Linked DNA regions of Homo sapiens: regions 1 and 2 are each linked to region 3. Evidence: promoter capture Hi-C in human tissues and cell types (Jung and others, 2019). All regions are on one chromosome and are shown on one strand. Each heading gives the region's core, a stretch centred on a gene start or on the middle of the fragment in contact. The rest is flanking DNA. Distances are from core to core; before and after follow the strand shown.

Region 1 (3,138 bases), core at 562-3,061, 250 kb before region 3:
TCTGCTTCTAATTGCCACAGACAGGGCCATGCAAAGGCGGCCAAGAGGGAGGGGAGTTACTGTTTCCACCTGTCTGGCCTGTTTCCTCTGGTTCCAGAGAAACTCCTCCTTGGATTTAGGGGCCCACAGGGACTTCCCAACTCTCGCCACTCATTAAGCCTGTTTGATTTAAAAGGAGAAGATTAAATACACAGCCCACAGCCAAGATTCCAGATGTTAAGCCAGCCTTCTCTTTGTGGTTGGGGTCCCCTGCTAAGTAGTACTAGCAATTAACATCTAAAGCTGGGTTCTGAGGGGCTGGAGTCAGGGAAGAAGGGGCCCTGGCTCTAGGCCCGGCTCGGCTGTTTTTATTAGTCCACGATCTGAACCATTCATTTGGTTTCTTCATTTTTCCCTACCGGGAATCGACCCTCTACCAAACCTCTGTCCCTTGTGAGCAGGCTGTGAAAATCAAAGGGGGTTAAAGAGTTATTTTGCAAAAGTATTAAAAAGCCACCACAGAACTGCGCTGTCCAATACCATACACCCTCACCACATGCTGCTATTTAAACCTAATTAAAATGAAAAATTCAATTCTTGGGTCATGTGCGTCACATTTCACACGTGGCTAGTGGCTGCCGTATTGGCCACCTCACAGAAAGAACACCGCCATCGCCCATTAAGTTTTATTGGACAGTGCTGCTCCACAGCTTCTCTTGGATTTCTCTCCACAAAAAAAAAAAAAAAAAAATCACAAAAAAGAACAACCCAGCCTTGTCAATGCTCAGGAGGGCAATGTTTCTTACGGTTTTGTTTGTTTGTTTTGGTGGGGGTGGGGGGGTGTTTGTTTTTGCTTTTGGAGGGGGGACAGTGTCTCACTCTGTCGCCCAGGCTGGAGTGCAGTGACACTATCTGGGCTCACTGCAACCTCTGCCCCCCCGGGTTCAAGCAATTCTCCTGCCTCAATCTCCCGAGTAGCTGAGATTACAAGGTGTGCACTACCACACCCGGCTAATTTTTGTACATTTAGTAGAGACGGGGGTTTCACCATGTTGGCCAAGCTGGTCTCGAACTCCTGACCTCAAAAGATCTGCCCACCTCAGCCTCCCAGAAGTATTGGGATTACAAGCGTGAGCCACTGCACCCGGCCCCCGTGTGTCTTAATGCCTCCAAGAAGAGGAGTCCCTTACTCGGACACAGTAAGGCCACCACCAGGCCCTCTTTCAAATTCTAGAAAGATGACACTTAAAGCAAGTGTTGGCGAGTAAAGGGCTTTTCCCCCTTGGCTCCCACTGCCTTTATACTCAGATGGCCCTTTCAGACCTAATCTATTATTTACACAGTCCTACTTTTAAGAGAATGCATTTCAAACATTTTCTCAACAGGAGTGTGAGGTCTGTGCAAAGCCAGGGTCCAGGACAACCAATCACTTCCCTCCTGTTGGCCTGACAGGCCTTTCTGAACAGCACCAGAAAATGGCCAACTTGAACTATTTAACAAAACAAAAGGACACAGTCCTCCCCTGGCCAAGTGTTAAAAGCATTCCAAAAGAAAAGGCCGAAACAGAAGCTCCTCCCCTCCAATCTGTTCCTCATCTGTCCAGGGATTTATTGGCTCTCGCACTAAATTAATCAATTGCCAAAAGAGAGCTAAAACCACGGCTCCAATGTAAATACTTCTTGGTAACAATCCCTCAGCGTGACACTTCAGATTTCAAGTGGCTGGGTGGCCTTCCAAACGCCTCATTAAATAGCAACTTTATAGCATTAAGAGGAAAAGGCTCTGGGATTTTCTGTACAAATGTATAAATCAATCTTTTCAAAGACAAACAACAGAACAACCCGCAAAACATACGTGATAGGGGAGGGGGCTCGGGGAGGAGCATCAAGAAACTGAGGAAGGAGAAACTGAAGCCGACGGAGGTTGGTCTAAAGTTTCTCCTGGCTCTGGGCATGAGGGTATCTTGACTGGGAACATTTCCATTCCATCCAACATGAGTTTTTCCCATTATCGAATGGGACCACTCTCCCGATGGTGAGATCCCATGCCCTGTATCATCCCAGACTGACTTCCTATCCCTCAGAGCATTTATCAAAGATTTCCAACTCACAGGCAGTTAAAATCAGTCAAGCTTACGGACTTCTCTCAGGGAATGATTTAGTGTTAAGAAAAACTACATCCTCAACAGTTGGTTATTGATTACCCTCTGTGTTTAGGACATAGTAAGGGTTAGAAAAACACATTCTCCTCTCTCCCTCAAATAATTTCACATGCCTTGTAGAGTATAAACCACCTCATTAACAGCCAAGCCTACAAAGACACCACTGCCTCACAAATCGGAGTACGTAGCCCTGACCAATCCAATCCCATTTTCTTTTTAGAAAACCTTCAATGGGGCCGGGTGCGGTGGCTCACACCTGTAATCCCAGCACTTTGGGAGGCGGAGGCAGGCAGATCACCTGAGGTCAGGAGTTTGAGACCAGCCTGGCCAACATGGTGAAACCCCATCTCTACTACAAATACAAAAATTAAGCCAAGCATGGCGGCACGCCTGTAATCCCAGCTACTCAGGAGGCTGAGGCAGGAGAATTACTTGAACCCAGTAGGCGGAAGTTGCAGTGAGCTGAGATCATAGCACTGCACTCCAGCCTGGGTGACAGAGGGAGGGAAGGAAGGGAAGGAAGGAAGGAAAGAGAAAAGAGAAGAGAAGAAAAGAGGAAAGAAGAGAAAATAAAAAAGAAAAAGAAAAGGAAACAAAACAAGAAAGGAAGGCAGGCAGGCAAAGCTTCTATGGGCAATATCTGCGCCATCCAAATTCCACTGCTGTAAATGGCCCAAAACAGCTGCACCCCTGGAACCCAGGCTCGAAAAATAGGGTTGTATCCCTCTGATGTGCCCAAATGCCCATCGTATGTTGGAAGTTAACAATGCTGAACAACTCCCACTCCCTCCCCGACTCTCGCCACTCTTCGGCTAAGCAGCCTTTCAAAGCTATGTGTAACTGTCCCCCCACAGACCAATCCATTTTATTTTTCCTTTAGAAAAAGTGCTGTTCCCCCCCTCCCCCGCACATAAAACTGATGACTGAAAGCAAAGCGTAGGACAGTTTTGAGACACAGGGCATGCACAGGCAACCCTCAGTATTTGAGCCTGTGTCAT
Region 2 (3,117 bases), core at 136-2,635, 140 kb before region 3:
TTTTTGTATTTTTAGTAGAGACAGGGTTTCACCATATTGGCCAGGCTGGTCTTGAACTCCTGACCTCGTGATCCACCTGCCTTGGTCTCCCAAAGTGCTGGGATTACAGGCGTGAGCCACCACGCCTAGCCTCAGGCATCACTAACTTCTTACTCTTAGAGTTTTTGTCCCTGTTTTGCACTGACCACCCCCCTTCTATTCATACCCACTTTCTCCAAAGTGCACATTATGACATCAATAAGTAATGATTTCTGATCTCTGAATTACAAGCACAATCCGATTTCAGTCCATCCTCCACAAGATCACTGTGATTTGATGTTTGTTTTCTACGTGCATTCAAGGACAATGTCTTACCTTGGAAACTTGGAGACTGGCTATCCAACCCTGTATGTTGTATTTACTAGTTTAATTCTCAAAATAAAAACTTGACTTCCTTATGTCTAAGTTCGGGGCTGCGAAGAAGGGACCTCACTATTGCCCCAGGTCCCGAGGACACCTCTGGATTTAGTGTAACTACAGGAGCTAGCAAAGTGGCCATGTGGGGCACTCACAGGCAGTTTTGATGCGCTCAGAATGGTGTCTGTGAATGCCTGCAGGAGGTGAGGACGGGAGGGACAGAACTAAAGTCACAAGCAAAGCCGGGATTTCATGTTCTTTTTTCCACTCTTGACCTGGAGCCCTACCGAGGAGCCTTATGCTCTGAATTTCCAGACAGCTCCTGCATTTCCCAGAGCCCTGAGGCCCTGTGGCAGCGTCCCAGTGCCACAGATGAGGGAACAGATTGAGAGGGGACCGGAGACTCAGTGACAGTCAGAGCACTATGTGTCCATGACGTCACTCGGCAAAAACTCCCTGCAGATTGGAAGGCAGGTTCTCATCCATTAAGCAAAGCCTTTCTCCAGGAAATTGGAAGCGGGAAAAAAATAAAACTTCTTTGTATTAGAGACAACATAGGCACAAGGGCACATCTCCACAGGGGAAATGTAGACGGTTGGGTACATTTAGGACAGGAGTCTAATGTTTCCATTGCTGAGGCCTCAGAGGGAGGTGCTATAGGAAATAGACACTCTCAGGCACGCTGCCGATCTGGGGAATTACCAAGATTAGCAAAATGGCCATTACCTGCCACCCACCAGGTTCCACTGAAGCATTTCCAACATACTTTAAGCACCCTGGTTGGACGACTCCAAGTTCAGTATCAATCTCTTTGTGATGCTGAGCACGCAGACTGTGCCAAGTGAGACACTAAAGAAACTATGTGAAAATAACCGAAGACTTGTTCTCAACTTGAAATCTCAAGTCTTCTCGCCTGAGGAGGTGATTAAAAACTTGGCCTCCTTCCCCGATGCGGATGCTCTAGCCCCCTGCCTGGCAAGCTCAGGTGCTCTCCTGCCCAGTCCTGTCCTCATCCTTCCCTCCCGTGTTCTCCAAGGCTCTCTCCATGACACCTTCCACCCAAGTCCTTTCCCACGAGTCTTAAGACCAGAAAAAAAAATGGAAAGAAAGACGCGTGCATGCTTCTGGTGTTCCCAAGTTCCACAAGATAAACACTGGTTAAGCCAGTGAGGAATGACTCCTCAGGCAGAAATCATTCATTCATCCAGCAAATATTTATTGAGTGCAATAAATCAAGTTTAAACCAACTTTATCTAAAATAAAGTTTAAACCAACTTCATCTAAAATAAAGTTTAAACCAACTTTAAATAAAAGTCCTCACCTTTGGGAACTTAAAATTTAAAGTGGTGGCCAGGCACGGTGGCTCACGCCTGTAATCCCAGCACTTTGTGGGGCTGAGGCAGGCTGATCACTTGAGATCAGGAGTTCAAAAGCAGCCTGGCCAACATGGTGAAACCCCGTCTCTACTAAAAATACAAAAATTACCCGGGTGTGGTGGCGGGCACCTGTAATCACAGCTACTCGGGAGGCTGAGGCAGGAGAGTTGCTTGAACCTGGGAGGCAGAGATTGTGGTAAGCCGAGATCGTGCCACTTCACTCCAGCCTGGGTGATAGCGCAACACTCTTTCTCAAAAAAAAAAAAAAAAAAAAAAAATCTAAAGTGGTCTTTCCAAGCCAGCCTGAACCCCAGAATCATCTGGGCTTCTTAAAGATACGCTAGATCCAGATCCAATCCTTAGAGATTCTGATTCCCAAGACCTGGGGGTGGTGGTAGCGAGCAGATACCTGTACTTGTAATGAGTGTTTTGGGTAACTGGTATAACATGGTCCTGGAAACTATTGATCAATTAGAACAAGAGGTGCCAACTCCTGCATGACTGAGACTGGGACCACAGGAAGAAGGTTAATTTTAACATCCTAATGTCTCCGGAGACTCCTCATTTCCCACCCATGTAGGGTTGTAAGATTCAGCAAATAAGAATGTATAGCTCCCAGTTAAAAATGAATTTCTGAAAACAAGAAATAATGTTTTAATATAAGTATGCTCCAAATATTGTAGTATATCTTAATGTAGGTATGTCCCATGTAATAGTTGGGACATATTTATACTAAAATATTATTCATTGTTTATCTGAAATTCAAATTAAACTGTCTGGTATTTTATATGGCAACCCTACTCTACCCCACCCCAAAATGAAGCTCTCAGAGTCTGTGACCTGCATGTCTGTCTGCCTTTGTGACATATGGAATCCCAGCCGGCACCCCTACCCTGCCTCAACAGGCCTTTCACTTCTTCCTGAATGCAGATAGCACCCATGGGCCACGGCCACCCACACTGTGCCGGCATAGAGTGAATGAGTCAGACCTGGGATCACAGCTCATCACCTGACTTGGAGGAACTTCTCTTCCTGGCCCCCCTGTTATCTCAGGCTCTGGTCTCATATGCCCAAATCTGCTCCTCACAGCCCAGCTGCCTTCCCTAAATGCCTCTATTCGCCCAAACCCTGTAAATAGTAGTCCCCTCTGGCCAACTGACCTCCTGAAATAGGCACTGACAAAATGAGACGTCTGTCTCACATTATACAACTGTGTTATAAGGATGAAAGAAGATCAGGAACAGAAAGAAAAGGTCAGAAATAGAAAAATGTTTGAAGTAATTACAAGAAGTAATCCACCAGTGATTTTCAAATCATGATCCTAGGACTACGTACAGCATTTAAA
Region 3 (3,298 bases), core at 303-2,802:
CCTATCTGGCCACCACCCAGAAGTCACAACCCACAAAAGCTGGCCCAGTAGAGATGCCAGGCCCCTAAAGCCCTCCAGTGTTCAGAGACCCCACTGGAGAACAGGCCCTGAAGGTCCAGGGGGTCTCTCTGCAAGGACAGATCAGGGCATCACTTACTGCAGCCACTCAGCAACCACTTCCAGTAGTTTCATTGCGATTTGTCAAGGCAAACATATCCACCTACCCTACCTTTGGTGGAGGCAAGAGGTTAGGCCAGCTGCAGGGGACAGACTCAGACTCAGCTCCATCCCCCAACACTGCCCAACGGCCAGTCCCAGGGCAGGTCTGGAGCTCTGGAATGCCCTCGTGCCTGCCATTCCAGTCTCTGCGACCAGCCCATGCCAGACCTTGTCCTCTTCCCACTCCAGTGTCCCTTATCAAGGTCTCTGCATAGATTTGGGCTGCCGAGGACAGCTTCTGGCAAACTCCTGCCAGGGGTCCTGGACCCTCCTGCTGCTGAATTCAGCCTTGCGCTTTAATGGATTTTCCAAATAGCGGGGACCACAGGCAGCTCAAAGACTTAAAACACAAACGCAAACCCGAGGGAGGGAGAGAGGAACAGAGGGAGGGAGAAACCAGATTTTAGGAGAAACTCGACTTCAGAGAGAGAGCAGGATTTCCCTATCACTATGTTCCCCATCTCCCCGGCAGACGCCAATAACCGGCCCTAAGATGCCCTTGATCTTTGCGCGCCCCCTGCATTCCCTCGCCCCGCGTCTAACGTCTCATCTGGGCAAAGAGGCGGGGGTTGAGAGATGAAACAAGCCCGAGGGAGGATGGTCCCCAAGACATTACCTGAGGCCGGAGTACCTGAGTACCTCCACTCCTGTCGGAGGAAGGGACCAGAAGACGGCCCAGGGATGGGGACCCGGGATGCGCGCCCGAGCAGGAGGTCCCGGCCCTGTCTTGAGTACCCCCGGCAGTGCGTCTCCGGTTGTCCCGCTGTCTCGGTCCCGCTCTGTCTAGCCCCCTCCCCTGGGCTGCGCCCTCCCCGTCCCCGGCCGGATGCTAGAGGAGTTTGCGCCGCCCAACGTGGGACCCCGGTTCGGCGTCCTCACTCCCCGCCCTGCCAGGGCTGGGATTCCCGCACCCGGATTTGTAGCTAAACTTTCCTGGGCACACACGGTCTCGGGGGTGCCGGGCCTCCCCCATCCCCTGCCCACCCGGAGCCGCGCGTCCCGGCTGCAGCGGGACGGTCGCTTCACCTGCTCGCGGCTTGGCCGAGGCTCCCGCGGCTTCCTCGCGCGTCCAGACCCAGGCGCCGCCCGGCGGGTCCCCGCGCAGCTGCCGCCACCGCGGCCACCACCGGTGCCGCCGCCGCGCCTGCCCCGAGCTGCAGAGCCGCGGTTCGCCGGCAGCCGCGGGAGGCGCAATCCCGGTGCCTTGGGTTCGGCCTGCGGCTCCTCGGCTGCCTGCAGCCGCCGCCCCGCCGCGTCCCGCTGCCCGGGGCCGGCACGCACCGGCGCTGGGGTCCGCTCCTCGCCTCGCTGCGCAGGGGATCCGCCGAGCCTCCAGGATGGGCGGGGATTCCCTCCCCCTGGTTGATTCGAGGGGCGGGAACTCCCTTCCCCGAGTGACAGGGACGGGGGGCGGGGATTCCCCTGCAGGAATAACAAGGTGGGCGGGGATTTCCCCGAGCGAGCCCCGCCGCGGGCAAGGCGTCTCTCTGGGTGAGCCAGGAGTCCTGGTGCGCCCGCTTCAGAAACCTGGGGATCGTGGGAGGAAGGCATCCAGGGAGATGGCTGCTCCGAATCTCCATACAGGCGGGGCTTAGGGCGCCATCTAGGTGGAACAGAGCGAGCTAGGGGACGTGAAGTTGCCTCTGCATAGCACTTTACACAGCAAAGAGAAAAATGTCAGTTACCTTATCAAAGAATGGGGCGGAGGGGCCACAGGAGATGGGGGAAGAGCTAACCACTCACCCCAAGCTACCCTTAGCCTCTGGTCCTTGGGATACCAAAGGTAATTTAGCACTGGTACGAGGATTTCGGGGAGAGGGGACCTCTTGGCACCTCAGAGCTGCTTAATCCCCCAGTTAAGCCCCTGGGGGGGAATCCCATGGCCCTGGGGTGGTGGTTTTGGTCCCATGAGCACTAGCCACGAGCTCCTGCCGAGTGGACTGTGAGAGCTAATGCCAGCCGCCCTTGGCTCCCGTCCAGGTCACTCGAGGAACCGAGCCTCAGGCTTTTGGGATCCTTCATTCCGGTGGATTTTCAGGAAGGCCTTCAAATATTTTTGGTTCTTTTTTTGTCATCCTTGTCATTCTGCCTACCAAAGGGAGAGGATGATAAGAACATAATAGGAAGACTGCACAGCTCTGCAAATTAAGCTCTCTTAAGAGGAAAAAGCTGGTCTTTTTCAAGTGCTGGCAGATAAGAGTAAAAACATATGAAAAATTGCAAAACCTGGGATAATGAATAGTTGAATAATGCTTTTGACATTTTCTACAGAACAGTAATTGGAAATCTTTGCTTTCGGGGGGATGGGGATGGGACAGGGCAGGCCCCAGCTGCAGTTCTGCCCAGCAAGGCAATAAACTCTGGCCTCTCCGAAAAGCAGGCAGACATAAATCACCTGCGCAGACCGGACAGCGCTGTCCCACCACACCAGAGACCAGAGTGGGCCCAAGGCATTTGGAGGTGGTATTGTCCTCAGGGGCTGGGGTGGAGAAGTTCTTGATTTCAGCTGTTCTTCAGCTTTTATAATTACCAGGCCATTGAGATCAATGCTTGCACAAATCCAAGCATCGTATATGACAAGCTGGGCACTCAGGCACTCAGAGCTTCTCTTCCTATGTGTAAATAGAGAAAACACCTACCATGCAGGATTGCTGGAACTAGCAGTAACACAGCTATTCAGCACAGCACTTAGGAGGTGCTCAATGAAATGGTAACCATTATCAATGAAAGGTATCATTGGGACACTACAAAAAAATCCTTCTAGAAGGATCAAACAGGGCTGGTGCTTTCTGTTTTTTCCACAATCCCAGGCCCATCTTCCACCACTCTGTCCCGTGTTTTCTCAGCCTCTGTACCCAGCACATACCTTGGGCCTACCTCCCTCAGCACCAATGAAAAGTTTGCTGAATCAATGAATATGCAAATAAATGTATCACTCAAACTGTAGTCACTGCTATTTCTTATCCACTCCATCCCCAACTCTTTCATTCCAGCCATGTACTCCTAATCTGTAAATTCTGTTTCCTCTGCCAGAGTGACATTCTCACTCTCCTGTGTCTGCTGAAATCCCAAGGAGGTA

What was found. Contacts are between HindIII fragments. The study calls those that stand out against the background at their distance.
Region 1: a fragment that was not itself captured here is called in contact with the fragment with the promoter of PDZD2 in region 3 in 2 of the 25 tissues and cell types used here (dorsolateral prefrontal cortex and hippocampus).
Region 2: a fragment that was not itself captured here is called in contact with the fragment with the promoter of PDZD2 in region 3 in 1 of the 25 tissues and cell types used here (heart left ventricle).

Annotation. Positions count from the first base shown.
Region 1 is chr5:31,887,728-31,890,865 of GRCh38, reverse strand. All of the region lies in intron 2 of PDZD2 (PDZ domain containing 2), which reads right to left. Among named protein-coding and RNA genes, the nearest start is that of MIR4279, 47 kb to the left of the region's middle. RefSeq lists enhancers at 667-1,168, 1,169-1,671. The HindIII fragment of the contact is 3,683 bases long and covers 1-3,138 here.
Region 2 is chr5:31,781,641-31,784,757 of GRCh38, reverse strand. The region is part of intron 1 of PDZD2 (PDZ domain containing 2); the gene reads right to left. Among named protein-coding and RNA genes, the nearest start is that of PDZD2, 140 kb to the right of the region's middle. The HindIII fragment of the contact is 7,585 bases long and covers 1-3,117 here.
Region 3 is chr5:31,637,385-31,640,682 of GRCh38, reverse strand. PDZD2 (PDZ domain containing 2) reads right to left here and starts at 1,552. Exons shown (of 25, transcript NM_178140.4): 1 at 1,246-1,552. RefSeq lists a silencer at 1,249-1,598. The HindIII fragment of the contact is 21,895 bases long and covers 1-3,298 here.